Linked DNA regions of Homo sapiens: region 1 is linked to region 2. The links are contacts of gene promoters, found by promoter capture Hi-C in human tissues and cell types (Jung and others, 2019). All regions are on one chromosome and are shown on one strand. Each heading gives the region's core, a stretch centred on a gene start or on the middle of the fragment in contact. The rest is flanking DNA. Distances are from core to core; before and after follow the strand shown. Region 1 overlaps OBI1-AS1 (OBI1 antisense RNA 1). Region 2 holds the start of EDNRB (endothelin receptor type B).

What was found. The method cuts DNA at HindIII sites, captures the fragments that hold promoters and counts their contacts. A contact is called where the count stands out against the background at its distance.
Region 1: a fragment that was not itself captured here is called in contact with the fragment with the promoter of EDNRB in region 2 in 2 of the 25 tissues and cell types used here (H1 embryonic stem cells and bladder).

What each region holds. Positions count from the first base shown.
Region 1 is chr13:78,188,005-78,195,188 of GRCh38, forward strand. It overlaps OBI1-AS1 (OBI1 antisense RNA 1), which reads left to right. Exons shown (of 6, transcript NR_047001.1): 2 at 1,604-1,692. Among named protein-coding and RNA genes, the nearest start is that of OBI1-AS1, 140 kb to the left of the region's middle. The HindIII fragment of the contact is 4,851 bases long and covers 1-4,321 here.
Region 2 is chr13:77,913,709-77,920,160 of GRCh38, forward strand. EDNRB (endothelin receptor type B) reads right to left here and starts at 5,123. Exons shown (of 7, transcript NM_001122659.3): 1 at 4,383-5,123. The coding sequence starts at 4,865. RefSeq lists promoters at 5,052-6,124, 5,114-5,228 and a cis regulatory region at 5,480-5,489. The HindIII fragment of the contact is 11,006 bases long and covers 1,472-6,452 here.

The DNA.
Region 1 (7,184 bases), core at 646-3,145, 270 kb after region 2:
AATACATAGACATGATTCCTTCATGTAGGGCAGCTTGGACTGAAAACACTACAGGGGGGAAATAAATAAATAAAACGTGAGCGCTATGTGGCCAAGTTGCTTCTTTGTTTGCTGAAAGACAACGCAAGACAAAGGAGGCTCTATGTTCCACAGGAAGTAAGGAGGCAAATTTGCTCATTTGTCTTCAGAACACACATGCTTATTGCTACCTGCATTCAGTTGACATATACGCCATCCAAATGTACTTCATGCTCAGACTACAGTCACGTACCATTCTCCAACTATATGAACTGTTCAATTTTAGATGTGTGAACCTCCAGAACTGTGAAATAAACAACCTCAGTCAACATCAAGCAGAATTCAAAGAAGTCTAAAGTCTTAATAATTGTCTGTTCAGTCTGGGAGGAAAGGACTAAAATGGCATGAATCCAGGTAGGCGGAGATTTCCCCCTCCTGCTTGCTACATAGGATAGCACATGAGAATCCATAGTTAGGACTTTAAACAAACAGAGTTACCAGTGAGAAAGGAGGAAGATGTTTTCTGAAGGAGAAAAAAGTGTAGAAGTTTTAGCTCAACTGCTAAATTTGAAATGTTGGCTTACTCATAAGACACAAATGGAAGAGGCTATTTCTTTAAAATCACAGCTGGAAAGAACTTTTTTTTATGCTAGAAAAAATTGACCAAGTTTATGGAAAACAAAACTAAATAGGAATTATTAACAACTTCAACATACCCAGAAGTCTTTTACTGAGTTAGAAAAGAGCATGATAGAGAACAAATGTTATGAGAGAAAAAGACCGCTAACAATGATATTAAATGGGCCCACTTTTCCTCAAAATCTTGCAGTTCTCTGCAGTAGAATACTCACATACATACCCAGTATTCATTGTTATGGATCCTACTTGCTACAGACAGGGTCTTTATCCTCATTCATAATGTTTCTGTCTTGCCGTACTTTAGGGTGCAAGGGTCATAAGGGAGCCTCCTCTGCTCGTGCACACTGGACAGCCTTGTTCCTAGTCTCCCACAGTGCCCTGGCATACCTCTCTCATAGCTCTCCAACCATGATCAGTGGGACTGGGCAATGCCTCAGATTAGACTAGAAGCTCCCTGATAGCAAAGAGCCTGTGTGATTCTTCTCTGTACTCTAAGTTCCTTGCATAGCACATAGCAAAGATAAAGCACTCAAACATATTTGAACTAAAGGGAGAATCAATTTGTTCTACCACAAGTGAAAGGTGAAGTTTACTGTAAATGTGATGACTGTTGAACCAAATCTAAATAGCCTAAGCTGTAATTAACAGCCTTCATTTGGTTTGTAAAATGTTACCTTGATTTCTTTATTGCATAACATTCTCCAAGTTTTCAAAGTTTGGATCAGAAATCTGCACTTGCAGGATTTCTCCTTTCTTCATCTAAAAGTAGAGCACATATTCTTAAATCTTACCCCTCTCAAGTGAGTTCTTTTTCTTCTTGTCCAAATTGTGTGTGGGGTGGGGTGGGGGCACAGCCCGGATTTTCCTTATTTCAGTCAACAGTCTAAATTCAAGGGTCCAGACACTTAACAAATAGCTTCAAAATGTCCTTCACATTTTCTCATAGGTGATCCACCCTACCACATATTGTCTCCTAATGGCCGTCCAGTTTATCCTGGAGCCCTTGCATGACACAGGCCTATCGAAGCATAGGAGGTAAGTATCATGAAGATTCAGGGTCCTGTTACACTGGCGATGTTTTCAGTGTATCAGTGGCATAGGGTGTGTCAGACAATCTCCTATAAGACAAATGACAGATCATTACATCTCACACCTCTTACCCTGAGAAAGAAATGCAGAAGGCAGTGACCTCTGAGTTGATTACTACATGATAATTAAAGGGGAATGAAAGATGGCATTCTTGACCAAGTAAAGAGCATAAGTCAAGGTCTAAAGGTATGAAACAGCCTGATTTCTATAGGGAAGCAAAAGCAATTTGATATAATTAGAGTATAAACTGCAAGGCAAGAAGTGTTGAGAGAGGTGATTAGAAAGACAGAGCTGAAACAACAGGCTTAACCACTGAAGGGTCTTAAGTAGGAGACCCTTTCTTGGTCTTTCCAGAAAGCAGAAACTGAGGCGATGTTTGTGGGCTACAAATTTCCTGAAAATGTTATCACAGAAAATTAGGTGTGAGGGAAAAAGGAAGCAACACAGGGCAGAAGGAAGACTGAAGTGAGGATGCTACTGAGCTATCCAGTACAACTGGTCACTTCGTCTTGCAAGATGGTCTTCTGAGAAATAACAAGAAAAACTGAATCTAAAGATAGCCTGTTCAGAAGAGAAGGGAATAGGAATTTTATCTGCCACTTTTCAATTTCCATTTGTCAGGATTTCACCTCGTTGCGTATCAGGGCTTTATATTTCCTTGGTGTGTCAGGATCAAGTACTCAATAGTGTACCAGGAGCTGTTTCTCAAACAGTGAGAATTTCTGTGACTCAGAAGGTATAGTCTTGCTCCAGAAACTGAGGTATTTGCATTGTTACCCTCCTACTGAGGGTTATCAGTTACTCCACACAGCATTTTTACCTATCAGAAGCATCTCTACTGCCATCAAAACTTCAGGGTCATAGAGTATGTTTGTGTGGAACCTTAGGTCATAGTCTGACTTACTGCAGAAACCTCTCTTGCTGGCTGTCTTCTGAATAAATCAATTGGATTTGCATTAACAAAGGTATTCTTTGCTACCTACAAACTCCAAAGAATTCAACAAATGTTCTACTTTTCCTTATCAGAAGGAGATTTATATTAGAGACTATTAGGGATAGGAAAAAAAGTGTTTCTCCTACTCTCACAAACCACTCAACACCACACTTCTGACACCAGATGTGTGAGGATTATTTCCCCATACACAAAGTACTTCTTCAGCAGACACCAGCTGGGTGTGCTGTAATTCAATTCTGACACTATTTTCCTGTACATAGTGTTAGATCTCACAGATTGAGGATTCAGTTCCACAAGACTCACACCTCCCCACATCAGATACCAACTGCAAGTCCCATGTTGTGACCTGTACTTCTGACAGACCAGCTACAAAATGCAGGCTCTTATGACTCCCTCCTCAGGTTTGAATAATTTGCTAGATCAGCTCATAGAACTCAGGGAAACACTTTACTTACACTTGCACCCACTTATTATAAAGTATATTACAAAGGACTCAGATGAGTATCCAGCCAGTTGTAAGAGAAGCATAAAGCATGGCATATGAGAAGGGGTATGGAGCTTCCATGCCCCCTCCACTGCACCACTCTGCAAGACCCTCCACGTGTTTAACTATCTGAATTCTCCTGAACTCTGCCGTTTTCAGTTTTTATGAAAGCTTCATTACGTAGGCATGACTGACTATATCGTTGTCTATTGGTGATCTCTCAGCCTTCAGCCCTCTCTCTCCCTTCCAGAGATTGGCAGGTGGGGCTAAATGCCTTGGGTTTTCTGGTGGCCATCCCCTACTGTGATGTTTCCTAGGAGCCCTCAGCTACCAGCCACCTCATTAGCATACAAAGACACTCATCACTGGAGATTCTAAGGGTTTTAGGAACTGTGTGCCAGGAAATGGGGATGAAGACCAAATATATATTTCACAATATTACAGAGATGATGTCTTTACATATCTAAGACCACTGAGCCACCAAAACTTCAACTTGTGTGACAGGGCCCTGAATCTTTGTCAAGTTTATCTTCAACTTCTGCCAAGCATGTGTCATATTAGGACCTTAAGATACTTACCACTTTCTACTCACCATGTTCAAATAGCATTCTGCCACTAGTATAGTGGATCTATACGACGTTCTGAGGAATTCAAGATATCTAATGTTCCTGAAAACTATATTTTGACAGAAAGCTGAACAGTAGGTCTGGAGCAAGAGAGTAAATATGTACTATCATCTTTTCTATGTAAAAGTGAACTTCTTTGTCTCCCTATTGATGGGGTTAAAAAAATGCATTTGCCAGATTAACATCTGCAAACCAAGTGTCATTGGCTGTGTTGATCTAGTACCACAGCTGCTTTACTTTTAAATTTATGATAGTCCATTTTCATCCATCACAATACATCCGTTTTGTGTGGTGGCTAGATGAATGACAATATCATAAAGGACCACTACTCAAATCTTTTAAGCCTATTAAGGAAATGCTTCTCTGTATTTCCTCGCAGGATTCAGTTTTTCTTCTGATTATCTATTTTGACTAGGAGCAGAAACTTTCATGTCTTTCAGTTGCCTTTTTATTTTTTTTAAATCATAGGGCCCTTATTCCACCGGTCAGGGCAGTCCTTTCCAGTTTTTAAGTCTATGTATCAAAATTGTATACTTAGGAATTCAGGAATTAACCAAAGGATGAGTTTCAGGACTTGTTGTGCCCATTGTTAGCTTAAATCAAAACTTTAAAATTTATCCTCTATAAGCCCCTTTTCTCACCAGAAGATCACAGTGGCATTCCAGGTCCCTTGGTATCACCTCAGACCCTATAACAGTTGATTAAAAATGTAGATATTGTTCTTTCTTAGTATATAGTTATTATGATACATGATGTTAGGTCAGCAATTTGAGGAAGAAGCAGAATATTCAATGTATATACCTACAATGGTGTTGCAAGATACTTATACAAGGGAACCATGTTTTCCCTTTAATCAGTGAGCACTGGATCCGGAAACTTGCTTAAATTTGGAAAATTAACAAAAGACCGTGGTTTTACACACTAGTGGCTGATACCAGAATTCTGCCAGCTAGTTCTCATTTTTTAAAATTATATGGTTTGATAAAACCTCTGGCCACTGTTCACTATTTGCCTCCAGATTCTGCATAATCCCTTAGCTATGCCACAGATTCCTGTGAGTGAAAGCACCCTTAAGGTCATTCTGGCCTTCATGCTCAATATAGTAATATACATACCTTTCCTCTGACTTTTAAGTGCTACTCCATGGTTTCTGCAATTCCAGAATCCCATGATCTCTATTCATATTAGGCTTCATCTTCCACAGTCAACCTGACTTTACAGGGGTTAGCAATCATGATGTTGTTCAAAGAAGTTAATATCTACCTACTTTCTCCTGTACATTTTTTATGGTCTTAGTGGAGGAAGTGTCCTTACTGCTCAGTAAACTTATCAGGCTGTAGATTTTTCAGTTCTTATATAGTCTATTTACATTAACATTTCTACCTTATTGAGCCTTCTACCCTTTGAGCTTTCTATACCTTAGTCTATACCTTTTATCTTCACTTCATTTACAATAAACCATAATAATGTCGAAGCTTCACAGAGTCATTCTAATAAATTACCTGATAGGTTATGAGTGTTCTTTTCAGAACATTGAACTCTGAGTCACAGGTCAATATTTGCATGAAGAAGTTCTCTTCTATCCATCTTTATAGATCTCTATTCTAATCTAGAATTTTCCAGATTACTCTTAAATGTGTTTCTTGGTCCCTGCTATGACATATTAACCAGGCAAATGCAGAAATCGCCCACCTTACTACCAAAGACAGTTTCCGGACTGTCGTAAATAGCTTTGTAGTCTTATTTAGATAGAGAGATAGGTGGGCTTTTGAGGAGGTCAGTGCATCTAGAATTTGCAGAGCAGAATAACCAAAAGAGAGGAAGGAAGAAAAAGAGAGATAAATCTTCAGAAGGGTCTCCCTTCCTCTGTTTGAGTTTAATAGAAACTATAAAGTCAGAGTTCCAAGAAGCTCCACAAACCCCAAGCAGAAGAAACACAGAAAAACACACCAAGGCATATTATGGTCAAATTGCTGAAAACTACTAATAAAGACAAAACATTAAAAGCAGAAAGGAAGAAAAAGACATGCTACATACATACATATTGTACATTAGCTAAGCAGGATATTCCTACACTCCTGTGCCAATATTTCATTCTCTGCCATTTAAATGATGTTGATCAGATTTTCTCCTTGGATCCTCTACACATGACTACACAAAACAACCCAGACTTGTGTGAAATGATTCATCTGTTCTCAGCAATTAGTGAAGCAAAAATATATCCTGTGGTTAAGAAAATGTGTTTGAGCATAGATCAGCCTTTCTTTATGAATGCCTAGGTAGACAACCCAGTTAGCCAGATCATAAGTTGATCATCAGTGTAATTTTCACCCCATAACATCTATGTCACAGGCTATTAAAAGATCAATGCCAGAATTAACAGTCATCCAAATGCTGACCCTAGCACAAGAAGGCAGTAGAATGAAACAGTTTAAAAGTTAGAACTCTGGAATTGGACTTCCTGGGTTAAAATCATGACTATTGTGTATTAATTTTGAGACCCTGGACAAGTTACAAAGCTCCATTTCCCTATACGTAGATAATGTATAATAAAAGAAAATAATCTTATAAGATTTTTAAGAGGATTCATTGAAGAGAAATGCTATTTCGCTTAGCCCTGTGTCTGCATATACTAAACCCTCCACTAAAAGTTGGGTACACAGCTCGGTGTGGTGGCTCATGCCTGTAATCCCAGCACTTTGGGATGAGATTACAGGCATGAGCCAAGATGAGAGGATCGCTTGAACCAGGAGTTCAAGACCAGCCTAGGCAACATGGTGAAACCCATTTCTACAAAAAATACAAAAAATTAGCCAGTTGTGGTGGCGCATACCTGCTACTGGTGAGGCTGAGATGAGAGGATCACCTGAGCCCTGCAGGTCAAGGCTTCAGTGAGCTGTAATGGCTCCACTGGACTCTAGCCTGAGCAACAGAGTGAGACCTAGTCTCAAAAACAAAAAAAAAGTTAGATAAATGGAGAGGAATGACTACTTTAACCATCATTGTTTAACAAAACTTTGTCTCATGATAATCACAACTTTCACAATATGTTTGTGTTTTTTTAATCTAGAAACCAGTATACTTCCTCTACAGCAGCATTTTAGTAGACAAATGAATAGGTAGCATTTTGCCAGACAAATGAACCTAGGCATGTTCCTATTGCTGGCCGGAGTTGGGTGAGGTAGCCACCTCAGGGAGAGTGTTGGTCTGTAATTAGGAGCTAGGAATACGCATGTGGGGCTTACCCTACCAGTTAATCTTTAGAATGAAATTATTCTTGTCTTTCACCAACTCAGCCCCCTGCTGGGGCATCCTTTGTGTTAAATTAAACAAGTTTTCCTGGTCTAATCCTATTTCTGTAATGTGGGTAATA
Region 2 (6,452 bases), core at 3,873-6,372:
ACCAAGCCAAATCAACTAACCAACCAAACAACAACATAAACACATTGATAGCATCCCCAAGTATACCCGGCTGTCTTGCTTTTTATCCAGCTTTGATATCTATGCTTCTACAACTTAGTAGTGGAACACCAGGCTCTCATGTGAACAAATATCTAGATTACCCCATTTATTTTAGGATATATAGGAAGGGCAAAATAAGTAGCTTGTGAATAAGGAGAAATTCATCCTAACGTCAGGTAGTCAAGCACTGGCTTTTGGTTCTGATGTATATGTAGACTATGTAAATATTAAGCATGGTGGCCCATATACATATTACAGATAAACATTAATATGCATTTACATCCATATTGAGATATTATATAAAATAGTGATTAATACCAAGAGTACAAGAATAACTTTCTAGCACAATATGGCAATATCTTTCAAAATTACAATGCACACACATTTTGATTTAATAATTCCAGTTATAAAAATTTACCCTTCAGATGTAGTCACACATGTGTGCAAAGCCATATGTACAAACATGTCGTTTGTAGTCATGTTTGTCACGACAAAAGCTGGAAAACAAAGAATACTCAAAACGCACATACACACACATACACACATTTTAATAACATTTATCATTTCTTGCTATATGCCATGCCCTGTGCCAAATGATAGTCATCTTTTTACTTATATATTCTTATAAAACTTAACATTTTAATGTATGTACATGTACACGTGCATATATATTTAAATAAATATCTCCTTTGGATGCCTGAAGTTTTCATTGTTCTTCTGGTTGGTGTTGTGTAATGTAGGCATAGCCCTAGTGTGTGCCTATGAGAAGCGTAAGCAACGCTTATTATTTTCTGCATGTTTACATGAGTTTAAAGTTCTTCAGCAGCCTCAACTTGCTAAGTGTCCTCAGACACTTCCCTAGCCTTCAACACAGGATTTCACCCACAACACAGGAGACCTGTGAGAGTGGTATGATTCTTCCTAAAAGTTTCCAGGGACCCAGCTCCTTGAGGAAGTCCAGGCAGATCAGACATGTTTCCCAATGCTTTTCAGCTTCCCACTGCAGCAACTCCAGATAAAGTCCCACCAATTCCACAGCCTGAAGACTGTAGCTTCCAATAAGAGCTATGACATTTTGTGATTTGTCAACTTTACTGAACTCTATATTCATTAAACTCTAGATTAATGGAATAGATTCACATTGACATTTCTGGGCCTCTGGGCCCTTAGTGTGCCAACAAGAGAGTAGGAGAATTTCACAAACCCCCAGAAATTGTGTATATTGAATTCTCAAAGAGAATTATAAAACCCCACCAAAAAAATTAGAAATCACTGGTTTAGATTTAAGCCTCTCATATTAGGATATATTAAATATAGCCTTCATAACTCATTTAAATTACTTTTTTCTGAATGATCATACCTGACTACTCTGAAATTCTAAATGCATTAAAAAAACTACGTTGCCACAATTATTTAGGAGAATAAATGGCTTTTAACTGGTCCTGGATTTGATATTTTGGTAAATTAAGCCATTAGAATAACTTCCACTGATATTACACACTACAGACCAGCTGAAGGGGGTTTCAAGAGACCGAAATCCTGACTCAAATTAATTTCTGAAAATGTTTACCAAGTATTCTACTGTGGGATAGCATATTATTTGCCATAATTCCACCAAATGCTCCCAAATGAGATCCTAAAACAATACTCAAGGTTGGAGATGACCATGCAGTGCCTGAGCATGCTTTGTGCAGTGGGATGGGGTGGACCACAGGGTCTTGGGCTGGATGATCTGCTTTCAAGCCCCAGTTTCATTACTTTGTAGTGGTATGACATTAGGCAAGTTACTTCTTCACCTCTCTGACAAGTAGTTTGCCTAGATCTAAAGCAGGAATGATAACGATACCTCCTCTACAGGGTTGTTATAGTGACTTAATGAAATAAACCAAGTGCCTAGTGCATCATTAACTGGTAGCCATTATTATGATATTGTGTCTCAAGCTAAACCTAAGGCCACAAGGTAGGATTCAATAATGATGACCTTAGTGATGGGACGTAATGTGATGAATGTGTTTGTGACCCATGTAGATTAATGGATGGACAGATTTATAATGACTCATTGGCTTATTTCAGAAGTAAAAACACAGTCATGTTAAGACTGGATGGCTTCAGGGAAAAGGATGTAACTTCCTAGGGAAATCATATGGGAGTTTGAAATGAAAGGGAAACTGTATGACCTCTTGGGGAGTCAGAAATTCTCTAGTTTATTACAAATACTCATTTAACCAGACAGAGGAAATAAGATGGTTCTGGAAGAGCTGATTTATATCTGTCCTGGAGGCAGCACACCAGAACTAAAAAAATGTTCTCAATCCCACCTTCTACACAGCACTTCAGCTACTGTCTGATTTAGAAAGGTTTCTAACTGGGCTGGACATGTGGGGTTTCCTGACCCCCTAAACAGAACTTTCATAAAATCCTGTGCCAACCTAGCAAAACTAGATTTTAATCTCCCTTTGGGAAGAGATCTTGTTAGATTTATTTTAAATTTATCACAACACCTTGTACTGAAAAGTTCTCAATTCGGTTTTGATGAATTGAATTGAAATTCCTTTGCCAAATTAGAATGGGAAGATTTAGTTTGTGGGACGCCTTAAGAAGTAAAAGGGTCACTTCTGGCCCTCATGGAGTTGTGGCTGCATTTAGAGATTCAATTTCAGCTCTTACCAAGTAAATCCTCACAGTTCATCAGAATCAATTGCCATACAGGATTTTAGGATTTCTTCAATCGATTCCCCCATTTCCGGGGGTGATTCCCTTTAGAGAAAACTATATCCTAATCCACTCTCACCGCTAAACCTCAGAAATGTTCGGAATTCCCCTTAAAATATAGCTATTGGGTTAGGATTTTTAGAGATTTATGAAGGGAAATTTACAGGCATGCCTTATGGTAACTACTCCTGCCAATAGGTCAAAGCATTCCCTACAACATTTCCCAACTTTACATTCCATTTTTTTCCCCTTGTACTGAAGTACTGAAGTCAGGGCTAGCTATAGGCAAATCTGCAAAGCACAATTCCATTTCCTTACACTGTGATTGTGTTTTTATGTGCAACTTTCTATTGCTGCTGCTGCTGCTGCTGCTGGGAAAGTTTTAAATATTTTCATATGTCTTTGAAATTTTCCAACTGTTTTATTTAGACTGCTTTTTTTTTTTTAACACCATAAAGCCTCAGTAAGTGGGCACTGGCAGCCTTATTGTGGAATTGAGGAAACTGAGGCCCAGAGGTGCTGGGATGTGTCTGGAGTTCCAAAGCAACCTGGAGCAACCTGGCTCTTTGTGTGTTTCTACTGACGCCCATGGTAATCACACAATAATGTTAACTACCGAAACCCTTACAGATTTTGAGTGCTCCTTGGTCTTGTCCATGAAATAATTGATGGGGTGCCATCATATAGCTTGCACTTTGGAACCTGACAGATTGGGTCTGATCCCCAGCTCCACCTCTAATTCATTTACTTTGATCATCCTACCAGTCATCTGTAAACTAATTGTAATATCTACTTGTGGGCTGCTGGAAGGAATAATGGAAGTAACACATCTCACCCAGTCCTTGGCCCACTGTAGATATTTAATACAAAGTAGCTACAGTCCGTCACAGCAGGTGAACTGTGTTTTTCCTACTCACCAGTCTGGATCTCTTTTTTCCAGGCCATTTATTTCCTAAATACCTACTTTGTACCTGCTACTTTCAAAGTCTTCCAAAACAGTCCTTCCCAAAGTTAGTGGGCATATCAATCACATGAAGATCTTAAGATGCAGATTCTAACTTAGTAAGTCTGAGGTAGCCTTGCATTCCTAACAAACTCTCAGGTAATATTGATGCTGACTGTCCATGGACCACACACTTTTGACTAGAGGATGTACCCCATTAGGTGCACTTAGGGACTAGATCCTTCAGGACTAGTGGTTCTCAAACTTTACAGTTCATCATAATCACATAAAGGGCTTGTTAAAATACAAATTACTGTGCTCCACTCCAGAGTTTCTGATTCAGTAGGTCTGGGGTGAGGCCAGAAAAATCTTCATGTGCACCAAGTTCCCAAAGTGATACTAACATTGCTAGACTGGGGACTACGCTTGTCCTAAGCTTAGCAGAGGTCTACTGAAGACCTGAATGGAATTTTATTCCAATGGTTACTGACTTTTATGAGTGGACAGAACCAAATGGAATTTGGTTCCAAAGATTACTGACTTTTAGGAGGGGCAGAACCTTAAGAGGGAGCTAAAGGGAAGCTCCCTCTACAAGCTTTCTCATCTCCCCGTCTCCAACCAGGCCCCCTTCCTCAAGCCCACCATGATTTCAGCAGGCGCCCTTTACCTTGTAGACATTGATAGGGATGTCAATGACGATGTGCAGCAGGTCTCCCAGAGCCAAGCTGGCGATCAAGATATTGGGACCGTTTCGCATGCACTTGTTCTTGTAGATAATTCTCAGAAGTGTGGAGTTCCCGATGATCCCCAGCACGAACACAAGGCAGGACACAACCGTGTTGATGTATTTGAAAGTCTCCTTGATCTCGATGGGTCCTTGGCACGGGGGAGGGGAGATGGTGCGTGGCGGAGATCCTGCCGTCCTGTCTCCTTTAGGCACCTCCGCAGGTGCCAACGACCGCGCCAGACTGGCGTTGGAACCCTTGGGCCATAAGGTCTTAGTGGGTGGCGTCATTATCTCTGCGGTTTGCAAAAGCGGAGTGGCCCTGTCAGGCGGGAAGCCTCTCTCCTCTCCCCAGATCCGCGACAGGCCGCAGGCAAGAACCAGCGCAACCAGGGCGCGTCCGCACAGACTTGGAGGCGGCTGCATGCTGCTACCTGCTCCAGAAGGCGTCCGGTGGCCGCTCCGCAGTTTCAGAGCCTAGAGACAAGCAGAGGAAGGAAGACAGGACACTTGGGTCAGCTGCCCGAGCCAAGTCGCTGCAAACGCTAATACCGCCCGCAGCCTCTTCGCCAGTATCCACGCTCAAAAGTAACTCAAGTTTGCGCGCCAGTGGGAAACTTGGCGCTCATGACTCGCCAGCGCGGGTCGAAACTCCTTCCTGATGCCCTCTCAGCTGTTTTTCTTCCCCCGCGTGGCCAGGAGGGGTAAATAATATGCAGTGGGGCGGGGCGTTCTGGAAGGGGTGTGCCAGGGAGGGAATGATGGGGGTCCCAGGCAAAGCTCCGAACTCTTTCACGTAACGGGAGGAATACAGACACGTCTTAGTTAAGCGTGCGTGGGAACCGCGGAATTAAGGCACCTAGAGGCCAAGGGCTTGTGTCAAGCTCTGCATTTTGCCCCGCAGGGGAACCTCTATACCCCGCGATTGAACTCGAAAGACTCCTCCCGGCGGATGAAAGCCGCTACTCCCTGGCTGGCTGAGCTACAGCTCCCGCAGCGCGCCCAGGAGTGCGCCGGAGATTCGGAAACCCGCAGAGACTTCTCAAGTCAGCAGGAACTTGGAAACCGCTGTTCCCTCCAAACGGCTTCAAACACTCGCGCTCCTTCCTTTACCCAACCTAATTTTAATTTGCCCTCTCTATAGGCTTAATTTTTATTTTTTTAAAATCCCAAACTAGTAAGCCAAACCGAAGCCCCAGAATAAGGTTCAATCAATGATTTTAATTCAACACCAAGCCCGAATGTTTACCTCTCGGATCTGACAAACCAGATGCAGAGCGACGAATGGAGACCACCTTCCCGGGAGGCGGAACCCAGCTGGGTTCCAGCCTGCTCTGGGAGAGGAGCACGCCTCCCTTGAGCTGCAGGCGGGTCCGGCTCTGACGAAACGCTGCGAGAATGCCAGACAGTGTAGCCTCCACCGTTTGCTCGGGGTCTCTGCTGCCATCAGACAAGTACTTTTATTCATTCATCCCTTCCCATCAATCACCGCCAGACTCCTCCCGCGCCTTCCGACCCCGCTGCAACCTTTCCCCTTGGGCGATGCCTGGACAGCATCAGTAGTAGTTGCCCGAGGGAGGGGGGCAGTCCTCGTCCGGGGACAGGTCCCAAAAGGCTGTTTATTTGTTAGAGTTCTACGCTCTTCAAATGAACCCAAATCAAGGGCAAGTTATCACGCACCATGTGACACCCGGCAGCTCCAGACTAGAACAAGGCTCTGCACTGAACGTGATAATTGAACTTTTAATGCCAAGTGTCACTTTTCTTTCAGGTAAATGTTCCGCCGCTGTGATATTTAAGGTTGGTTTGTGGGCGCTGCTCTTTGCTCTGCTTCATTTTGCCCTGAAGTTTCATTTCAAGCCAACATTAACCCCAACACGGAACAGCTCGATCTTTTCTTCCCAGGCCCTCTCACTGCCCCGAGAGAGGATTACAAGTACTCCTCATTTTCCCCAGTACAGCTCTTCTCCTCTCTTCCTGCCACAGTATCGGTGTTAGGCAATCTCAGGCATT